Linked DNA regions of Homo sapiens: regions 2 and 3 are each linked to region 1. Evidence: promoter capture Hi-C in 16 types of primary human blood cells and fetal thymus (Javierre and others, 2016). All regions are on one chromosome and are shown on one strand. The core of a region is centred on a gene start or on the middle of the fragment in contact, and the rest is flanking DNA. Distances in the headings are between cores, read along the strand shown. Region 1 holds the start of NARS2 (asparaginyl-tRNA synthetase 2, mitochondrial). Region 2 overlaps USP35 (ubiquitin specific peptidase 35). Region 3 overlaps GAB2 (GRB2 associated binding protein 2).

What was found. The method cuts DNA at HindIII sites, captures the fragments that hold promoters and counts their contacts. A CHiCAGO score of 5 or more calls a contact.
Region 2: a fragment that was not itself captured here is called in contact with the fragment with the promoter of NARS2 in region 1 in 1 of 17 cell types (M0 macrophages); the score reaches 5.6 in M0 macrophages.
Region 3: a fragment that was not itself captured here is called in contact with the fragment with the promoter of NARS2 in region 1 in 1 of 17 cell types (M1 macrophages); the score reaches 5.5 in M1 macrophages.

Annotation. Positions count from the first base shown.
Region 1 is chr11:78,573,349-78,576,254 of GRCh38, reverse strand. NARS2 (asparaginyl-tRNA synthetase 2, mitochondrial) reads left to right here and starts at 1,391. Exons shown (of 14, transcript NM_024678.6): 1 at 1,391-1,907. The coding sequence starts at 1,767. RefSeq lists enhancers at 1,096-1,235, 1,896-2,005. The HindIII fragment of the contact is 10,208 bases long and covers 1-2,906 here.
Region 2 is chr11:78,199,130-78,202,035 of GRCh38, reverse strand. USP35 (ubiquitin specific peptidase 35) reads right to left here. Exons shown (of 11, transcript NM_020798.4): 4 at 2,312-2,441; 5 at 1,802-1,903; 6 at 1,228-1,386. Among named protein-coding and RNA genes, the nearest start is that of USP35, 12 kb to the right of the region's middle. The HindIII fragment of the contact is 2,768 bases long and covers 6-2,773 here.
Region 3 is chr11:78,248,218-78,251,123 of GRCh38, reverse strand. It overlaps GAB2 (GRB2 associated binding protein 2), which reads left to right. Exons shown (of 10, transcript NM_080491.3): 3 at 724-967. Among named protein-coding and RNA genes, the nearest start is that of USP35, 61 kb to the right of the region's middle. The HindIII fragment of the contact is 3,578 bases long and covers 1-2,906 here.

The DNA.
Region 1 (2,906 bases), core at 142-2,641:
AATTATAATTTTATTATATTTATAATTTTAATTTATTAAAAGAACCAGGGAACACATTTATATTATATAAAATATAAAATTGTGATACATGTATATATTATAATTGTATTATATTTTATCCAATATAATATTTGGATAAAATATCAAAAATAATTTTTTGGATAAATTTAAGAGGTAGCCTAATATATAAGGGTGACTTTTCAGTCCAAACAAATGCAGACAACTCATACATCTATGTGTGCACTTACTGGTTTATATTTCAGTAGTCTCTTTTCTTGCTTGTCTCCATCTCTAAAGCATGAGCTCCTTGATGGAACAGATCACCTTGGGACACTATGTAATACAGCATACTGCTTAAGTGCATAGAGCCAGCACTTCTGGGTTTAAATCTCACACTTAGGGAATGTGTATCCTTAAGTAGGTCATCTAGCCTTTCTGTGCGTAAGTTCTCTCATTTGTAAAATGGGTATAATAATAGTAGCAACTTTAAGTAAGGTAAAAGTGAGAGAGAGAGAGTGAGAGTGAGAGGGAGCGGGAGAGAGACAGCGAGGGCGAGCGCTGGTCTTGAACTCCTGGGCTGAAGCAATCCTCCTGCTTCTGCCTCCCTAAGAGTTGGGATTACAGGCGTGAGCCACCGCACTTGGCCAAACGTTTTACTTTTTAAATTAGATTAAAAACCTTTTAATGACCGTCATTGAGTTACAGAATTTTTTTTTTAATAAAACGTAGCCTAATATATAAAAGGGTCATTGTTTCCAGGTCAAACAAATGCAGATAGCTGTGTTGGAGGGCAGAGGGAAGAGGGAGACTTGGAGGATTCTGGCAGGAAACACTCGAGTTTCCTCCAGTCTCTGCAACATCTTCCCACCGTCTTGCCTGCCATATGCAAGGTCCCTCCAGTTCCTTTTATTTACCTGTCAGAGGACTACTTTCTCCAGGAAGCCATCTCTGGCGTCCCACGCTTAGGCTCTGTCAGGCAAACTGATCGCCCTTTTATGCAACTGTCTGTTTAGCTGTCTGATACCACACAACTGTGACTTGCGCATTGGGGCTATGTCTGATTTTTCTCTGCGGAGTACTCAGGAAAGGAACGACTGATCTCTTCAAGCGAATCCTGTTAACAGCTAAGAGCCTCCTCTTACTTGGATCCCTATTGTTGACTGATGGAGACGGTTTCCCTCTCCATCAGTCACTCCTTGCCTCTCAGTTTCTCAGCCTCACCTGGAAACTTTAGAAATGAAGACCCTCAGATGTGCTCCCACGTTCTTTCAGCGATAATCTCTACAACCTTAGGGCATTAGCTCCGCCCCGTCTCGGCTCCTGACCCCGCCCCCTCCCGCACGCCTCCCTAAGCCTGGGTCACAAGTACGCATGCTCTCCCTTCTTCCCCGTAGCGTGATGACGTAAGCGGCGTTGGCGTGGTGTGGTAGGAGTGGTTGCGCGTGTTGCGGCCCGGGTTCTGTTCGTAGGTTTACAATTGTCGCGGGTAGTGGGGCGCCCCAGCTGCCAACTGCACGTGGTTTCTTTCTGGCGTTTGCCTAGTGTCCTGTCCATTCCGCCCCGTTGGGAAGTGGGAAGCGGAGAGGTTCTGTGGGGACAGAGCTGGGAGTCCTGAAGGAGAAAGCGCGCAGCCGAGGGGCTCTGGAGTGCCTTAGAGCAGAGCTGCGGCCGCGGAAGGGGAGCAGCTGAGAAAGGAGGGCCGCTGCAGGCGGGGTTCGAACCGTGGGGTCTGGGCTGCTCCCGCGGAGGGCCTGGGCGGACGCGGGATGCTGGGGGTCCGCTGCCTGCTGCGGTCCGTGCGCTTCTGTTCCTCCGCCCCCTTCCCCAAGCACAAACCTTCAGCCAAACTGAGCGTGCGGGACGCTCTCGGGGCTCAGAACGCGAGTGGGGAGCGCATTAAGATCCAGGTTGGTGAATGGGAAGGGAGTGGGTTTTTTCTTGTAGGGACTTTTATATGGCACATCCACATCTAGCTTTTCTTTTACAGTCGGGTCAGACACAACCGCCAGCAGGGAAAAGTTAGAAAGTGTAGGCGTCGCGGGTTTGCACTTTTCTGATTTCCATTACTTTTCACAAAACTGTTCCGATAACTGTAAAGCGCTGGAACTTTGCTTTCATGATTCCAGGGTATTACCTGTAAACTTGTTAATCATACCAAAAGTGTAAATGAACAAGCCCCCTTTCTCTATCTTTATCCCTTATAATGAATATCCAGGTTTATAAAGTGGTTGTCTTGACCTCCCTCCTTGAGAGCAGAAACCGTGTCTTACCTGCCTTTGTATTCACACATGGCTGACAGCAAATACTTGTTCAAACCATGCCTTTTAAACTTTTAGCGACCTCAGTGCCTATTGTGGGGGTCTGCATGTAATTTATTTTTAATGAATTCGGAGAAAGACTGGAATGTAGCAGTTTGAAAGAGCTCTGGAGTTAAGCTGCTTAGGTTTAAATCTCTGCATAGCGTTTATGCGTTCTACACCTTATTTTCCTCTTATGGAAAGAGATAATAATTGTCCCTGAGTCCTGAAAATTAAATGAGGTAATGGAAGTAAGATATTTAGAACAGTGGCTCATAGTCTACAAATGTTAGCTGCTATTGTTTCTCTTGCTGATTATATTATTTGCAGCAGCTCCACATAGAAGAGGTGCAGAATAAACAAGGTGTTTGACTGTTTCTTATTAGGTTGCTGAAGTACACTGATGTGGTTATTTATTTTTTGAGACAGGGTCTAGCTCTGTCACCCAGACTGGAGCGCAGTGATGTGATCTCAGATGACTACAACCTCCATCTCCCAGGCTCAAGCAATCCTCCTGCCTCGGCCTCCAGAGTAGCTGAAACTATAGGCATGCACCACCACACTCTATAATTTTTTAAGTTTTTTGTGAAGATGAGTCTCACTGTATTG
Region 2 (2,906 bases), core at 140-2,639, 370 kb after region 1:
AAGCTTAGCTATGTACTTAAAGTGATGTTTGTTATATTTTAACAAGCATTTCTAGCTGTTTTGTAGCAGGACACTTTTCAGGTTATCTCGTCTGCTGTGCTGCAGATGTAAAAGTCAGATCAAAGGTTCTGCAAGGGCCACCTACCTAGACCCCTTCACCCCACCCAACCTGCCTTCTCTATCAGGCAATGGGGAAGGCTCTGCCATCCAGACTCCAGCTACATGTCTCACTACCTCTGTGACTTTGCACAAGTCACCAAACTTCTCCAAGTCTCCTTTTCCTCATCTATGAGATTGAAATGAACCGTATCATCTTTGTAGGTTTCTTGTGAGCATCAGAAGACAAAACATACAGGAAAATAATCTCAAGTGTAGCAGTAGCCACAGATGTTAGTCACTGTCAGATCCTAGCAACCCGTCAAGCCCAGCTTGATGAGGCCTCTAAGAAACTCTTTCTTCTTAGAGGCCTCATCTGTCCTCTCTAACTGGAGAAGATCTTTCCTTCCTCTGGTTTCTCACTGCTCTCAAGCCAAACCTTGTAGACATTTTCAAAAGCTGCTCCGACCAGAGTTTCTCGTATCCAAGTCTGTCACCCTCACCAGGCTGCGATCCTCTCAATGGAGGAGACTCCGTTTGCTTCATGCCCATGCCCCCAGTTCCCAGCCTGGGCTTGGTGCAGAGCAGGACGTCAGTAAAGTCATGTGAACGACTGTAAATTATCCCTGGTCTGGAGTGCTCACAGTCTGGCAAGGGAGGCAGACAGACAGTGATAACATGTGACAGAGGGATGTACCAAGACTGTGGGAGCCCAGCGAGGCCCTAGCCCAGCCTGGTGGAGGGCATGGGAGTACTGAGAGTGATCAGGAAAGGCATCCTGAGGGAAGTAACACTAGAACAGAGACTTACAAGGTAAGCAGGAGCTGTCCAGGCAGAGCAGAGAAAGAGAACGTGTTTTAATTTCCATACTACACTGACAGAGAAGCGTTTATGGTTAGAAAGCACAGTGTGTGCAAAAGCCCAGAGCAGCCATGAGGCAGCCCAGCCTACTTGGGGAACGTGAGTGGCTCAGTGTGCTTGAGGCACATGATGGACCTGGGGAGGTGATGGGAGACAGCCAGGCACCAAATGACGGGGACTGCCACCAAGCTGTGGTATGGCCCGCTGGAAGGCCCACACTGGTACCTTTGTCAGAGTGGGGCAAGGCCCAAGTAGGGGACTGTCGCTCACCTTGATGGCCTCCATGACAGGCTCATACAGATCCGGGAAGCCCGGGAACCGGAACACCATGCAGTGGACCAGCTCCGCCAGCTGCTCCAGGCAGCTGGTCCCCGAGTTCGAGTCCTCCTTGACCAGAGAGGCCACCATGGGGGGGATGTGAGGGAGGAGCTGTGGGAGCAGAGCTGCGTCAGGCTCAGCACCAACCCGCCCACCTGAGACACGGGGCTGTGGTCCCTGCTGACAGCACGCAACACTCTCTGAGGTAGGGAGGCTTGCCCACCTGACCACTGTCCCCTGACCCAGATGGGGCTCTGAGCTCTGCAGGCAGGTGACTCCTTTTCCCAACAATATGATCTAAGACACCCTGCCTCAGTTTCTTCATCTGCAAAATAGGATGACTACTCCTCTCCTCACAGTCAAAGGGAGGCCAGAGCCCACGATCCAGCTGCTTGGCCTCAGCCAAGTGACCTGCCCCAAGAGCCCAGGGTCAGCAGGCAGGGCCCTTACCAGGGGCAGTAGGCAGGGCCCTTACCAGGGGCAGCAGGCAGGGGCCTCACCAGGGGCAGCAGGCAGGGGACCTTACCAGGTGGAAGGCTTCGTGGGAGTGCTGGAAGGTCAGGAGCATGTACTTGAGCACAGACAAGGCAGCTCCCCGGACGATGGGGTACAGCAGCTTAGAGAAAACCTACAAGAGAGTCCCTGGTCAGGAGTCCCCAGGCTTGAGCTGCTGAGGCCAAGTAGAATCACAAGCCTGAGAGGGGACTCAGAGACACCCTAGAGTTCAAACCCATGCAGAGGGATCAACACTGAGGTGCTCACAGACCCAGATGGACAGACAGATGGTGAGATGGACAGCAACATAGATATCTGAGGAATGGATGGACACACCAAAAGTCAGACACACATACTTGGATGAGTAGTCAGGGAAACTAATGGGGAGAATCTGAGGCCCAGAGAGGGGCAGTGAATTCGCCCAGGTCACACAGCGAGCTTGGTGGGTAGGCCCAATGCTCTGACCTCCCAGACCTGCACCGCCCCTGGCAAGAGCCTAGTACAAAAGGCTGTAACTCTGGGCTAGGACAGGGGCACCAACCTTCTCAATTTTGGTGAGCGAAACCTCGATCAAGATGCTGAACTTCTTAACAGCAGCCAGGCCCTTCAGCAGTGCAATGATCCACTTGTCAATATTCTTCCCCAGGGGCCAGGACACCCAGTCAATCATCCTGGTGAGGGGAGTGACAGTGACACAGGGACAAGGGACACCCAAAATGCTGGGGTGAGGGCAGCCCAGGGGCTATCCGTAATGTCCTGGGTTCCCACATTGACTCACACCTGCAAAGGGCAGCCCCGGGGTCTGTGGGCTGAACCAGACATGGCTGGGAAATGCACAAGCCCAGCACAGCCACCTGCCAGACACTGAGGCTCCCAGCCCACCAAGAAGGGAGCCAGGCCCTCTCAGCACCCCAAGTCTCGCCCCTCCACACTGGGCTGCAATGCCAGAACAAGGCTTTCAGCTGCTTCTGCCTGGAAGGGCACTGCCCCTGGGCCAGAAGCTTTGGCTCCAGCAAGTCCTTGCTGTGTGACCCAGAGCAAGCCACTTCCCCGCTCTGGGCCTCAGTTTCTTCCTCTGTAAAATGGGGATAATACCTCCCTCAGAGGGTTCTTGTATGGATTAAAGGAGATAACAG
Region 3 (2,906 bases), core at 278-2,777, 330 kb after region 1:
TTTTTTTTTAAATTTCAACTTGTTTTTCAGATGCCAGGGTACATGTGCAAGTGTGTTACATGGGTATATTGTCTAATGCTGAGGTTTGGCCTTCTGTTCATCCTATCACCCAAATAGCATTGTACCCCATAGGTAGTTGTTCAATCCTTGTCCCCCTCTCTCCCTCCCTGTTAACATAATCCCCAGTGTCTACTGTTTCCGTCTTTATGTCCATGTGCACCCTGTGTTTAGCTCCAACTTATAAGTGAGAACATTAGGGTATTTGGTTTTCTGTTTCTGCATTAATTCACTTGGGATAATGATGTTCAGCTGCATTCATGTTGCTGCAAAAGACATGATTTCATCCTTTGACCACAGCAGGCGCCACCAAAGAGTGGGAAGGTGGTCGTACTCATTACTCTAGAGGCAGACCTTGCCTGAGGGTCAGGGTCACACTCCTAGACCACAGGTAGCCGTACTTCCTGGAAGTGGGGCAGATATGGCCTACATTGTGATAGGAAGTCACCTCCAGGCTACCCCAGAAGCCATACAAAGGTAAAGAGGACCTCTTCTTCAACCAAGATGGCCAGGAGGGCAGCAAGGGGCAGGTATATGAGAGGGAGAGAATGCTAGTGCTGGATTATTTTCTCTGCTCTTACTCTTTTTTCTTCCTCTGACAACTCACTTTGGGATAAGGATACATTTCCTTCCTTTTTCATTCACAGAGCTATTTCTCCTTTTCAGACTCCCTGAGAAATGTTTCCTCAGCCGGTCATGGCCCCCGCTCTTCTCCAGCTGAGCTCAGCAGCTCTAGCCAGCACCTTCTCCGAGAGCGCAAGTCCTCAGCCCCATCACACTCCAGCCAGCCAACTCTGTTCACGTTTGAACCCCCTGTGTCAAACCACATGCAGCCCACCTTGTCCACCAGCGCACCTCAGGAGTATCTCTACTTGCACCAGTGCATAAGCCGAAGAGCAGAAAATGCAAGGTAGGAGGCTGCCACAGCCATTAGGTGGGTTAGTGACCGCTCACAGGGCCTAGTACTTTTCAGTCCTTGCTTTTTTAAAGACAAGCAAAACATTATATCGTTTCAGGTAGACAAACACGTCTATGACAAAACATAATTTTTTGCTTCTGTAGCCTTCATATTTTATTGGCATCATCTGTGTTGCTACACAGTGATAACTGGGTGCCAGAGAAACTTTTCATTATCAAAAATCATGCTATAAAAAATGTTTGATTTGGAGGCAGGGGTGAAGGCATTAGGGGACACAGTTTCCGAATTGCAAAAAAAAACAGTCAATTTACTTGGGCTTAAAAGTATAGCTATAAAACCATAACATAGTTCAACAAATCCATACCTTGCTTTTGCTCTAGAACTGCACTGTTCTGTATAGTAGCTACTACCTGCATATGTCTACATAAATTTAAATTAATTAAAATGAAATAAAATGTAAAATTCAGTTCCTTAGTTGTACTAGCCACATTTCAAGTCCTCAGTAGACACATATGTCTAGGGGCTACTGTACCAGACAGCACAGATACAGAAAATTTCCATCATAACGAAGTTCTAGAGCAAGGACTCCCTGTTCTAGGATAATGGTCTTTTGTTTTTCTAACATCATCAGCTCTTTCACAGGTGCAGAACCTGTAAATGTATTTATTATGTTTTATTCCCATTGTTAGGCTAAGCAAAAGTGCAGAGCTGATAGGCTTTGCCAGAGCTAATTCCCAGTTGCTACCATAGCCAGCAGATTACAAATCACATTTTAATTAACTTACAAGATCTAATTCATGTTATGACAATTAAGGCAAATAGAAAAATGGCTGTACTAATGTATTACTTGATTTTGTCCTTGAGAATATTTTCATACATAATCTCATTTGAACCAATCAATACACTGAGAAATAGCCAGTATACAAAATTTATCTCCATTTTAAAGATGAAGGAACTGAGAATCATGACTAATAAATAGCAGAGGTTGGGCTAGAACCCAGGTCTTCTTGTTTCTGGTCCTGTACTCTTTTCACTATGCTACCCTACTTTTGTTTTTCTGAGTCATCTGCTGTCACACAGAAGAGGCTCCAACACTTAATCTTAAGGCTGCCTCAGATACCCATTTTCATGAAGAACATGATTCATTTGTTTGTGAACTTTCACTAGTTCAACTTCCATCAACTTATACATGAAGAGCTGAGTCCTAAAAAGATAGAGTGAGTTAGCCAAGGTCACTGAACTAGTTAGTGGCGTTAACTGTAAATAGTACCTGATTCTCCCGAATCACTAACCAGAGATAGGCAGTGTGGTATAATGAAAAGCATGTTCAGGCTTTGGAGTCAGTCGGATATGGGTTCAAATTCAGGTTCTTTTACTTTCTTTGTGATCTTGGGCCAATTATTTAACCTAATTAACCTTCAATATTCTTATCTTCAGAATGGGAATAACTAATTCAAAGGCTTACTAATGAGTGTAAAATGATAAAACATACATAAAATAGTAGTAGAGAGTAAATACATTTTACCTGTTCTTCCTATGCCCCATCCTCTTCTACTACATAGACAACTGCCTGGGAGCAGATAAGGTGAGGTCTTAAAATCATAGTTGTAGTGAAAGGCAAAGTACTTAGCTGTAGTGCCTTGCAGACTTTAACATGCATATGAAATACCTGAAGATCTTACTGAAATGCTCACTCTGACTCAGTAAGCCTGGCCTAGGTCCTGGGGTCCTTTCTAATAAACTCCAGATGATACCAGCACAGATTGTCTACAGCTCACACTAAGTAGAAGGCTTTATATAGTAGTAACAATTGCCGCCACCACCACTCCAGTGATCCTGCTGACGCATCAGAGAACAAACGTAGAAACATCTCTGCTTGAATTAGCCTTTAGGGCCCACTCTCTGCACCCCTACCTCCTCTGTGAAATCC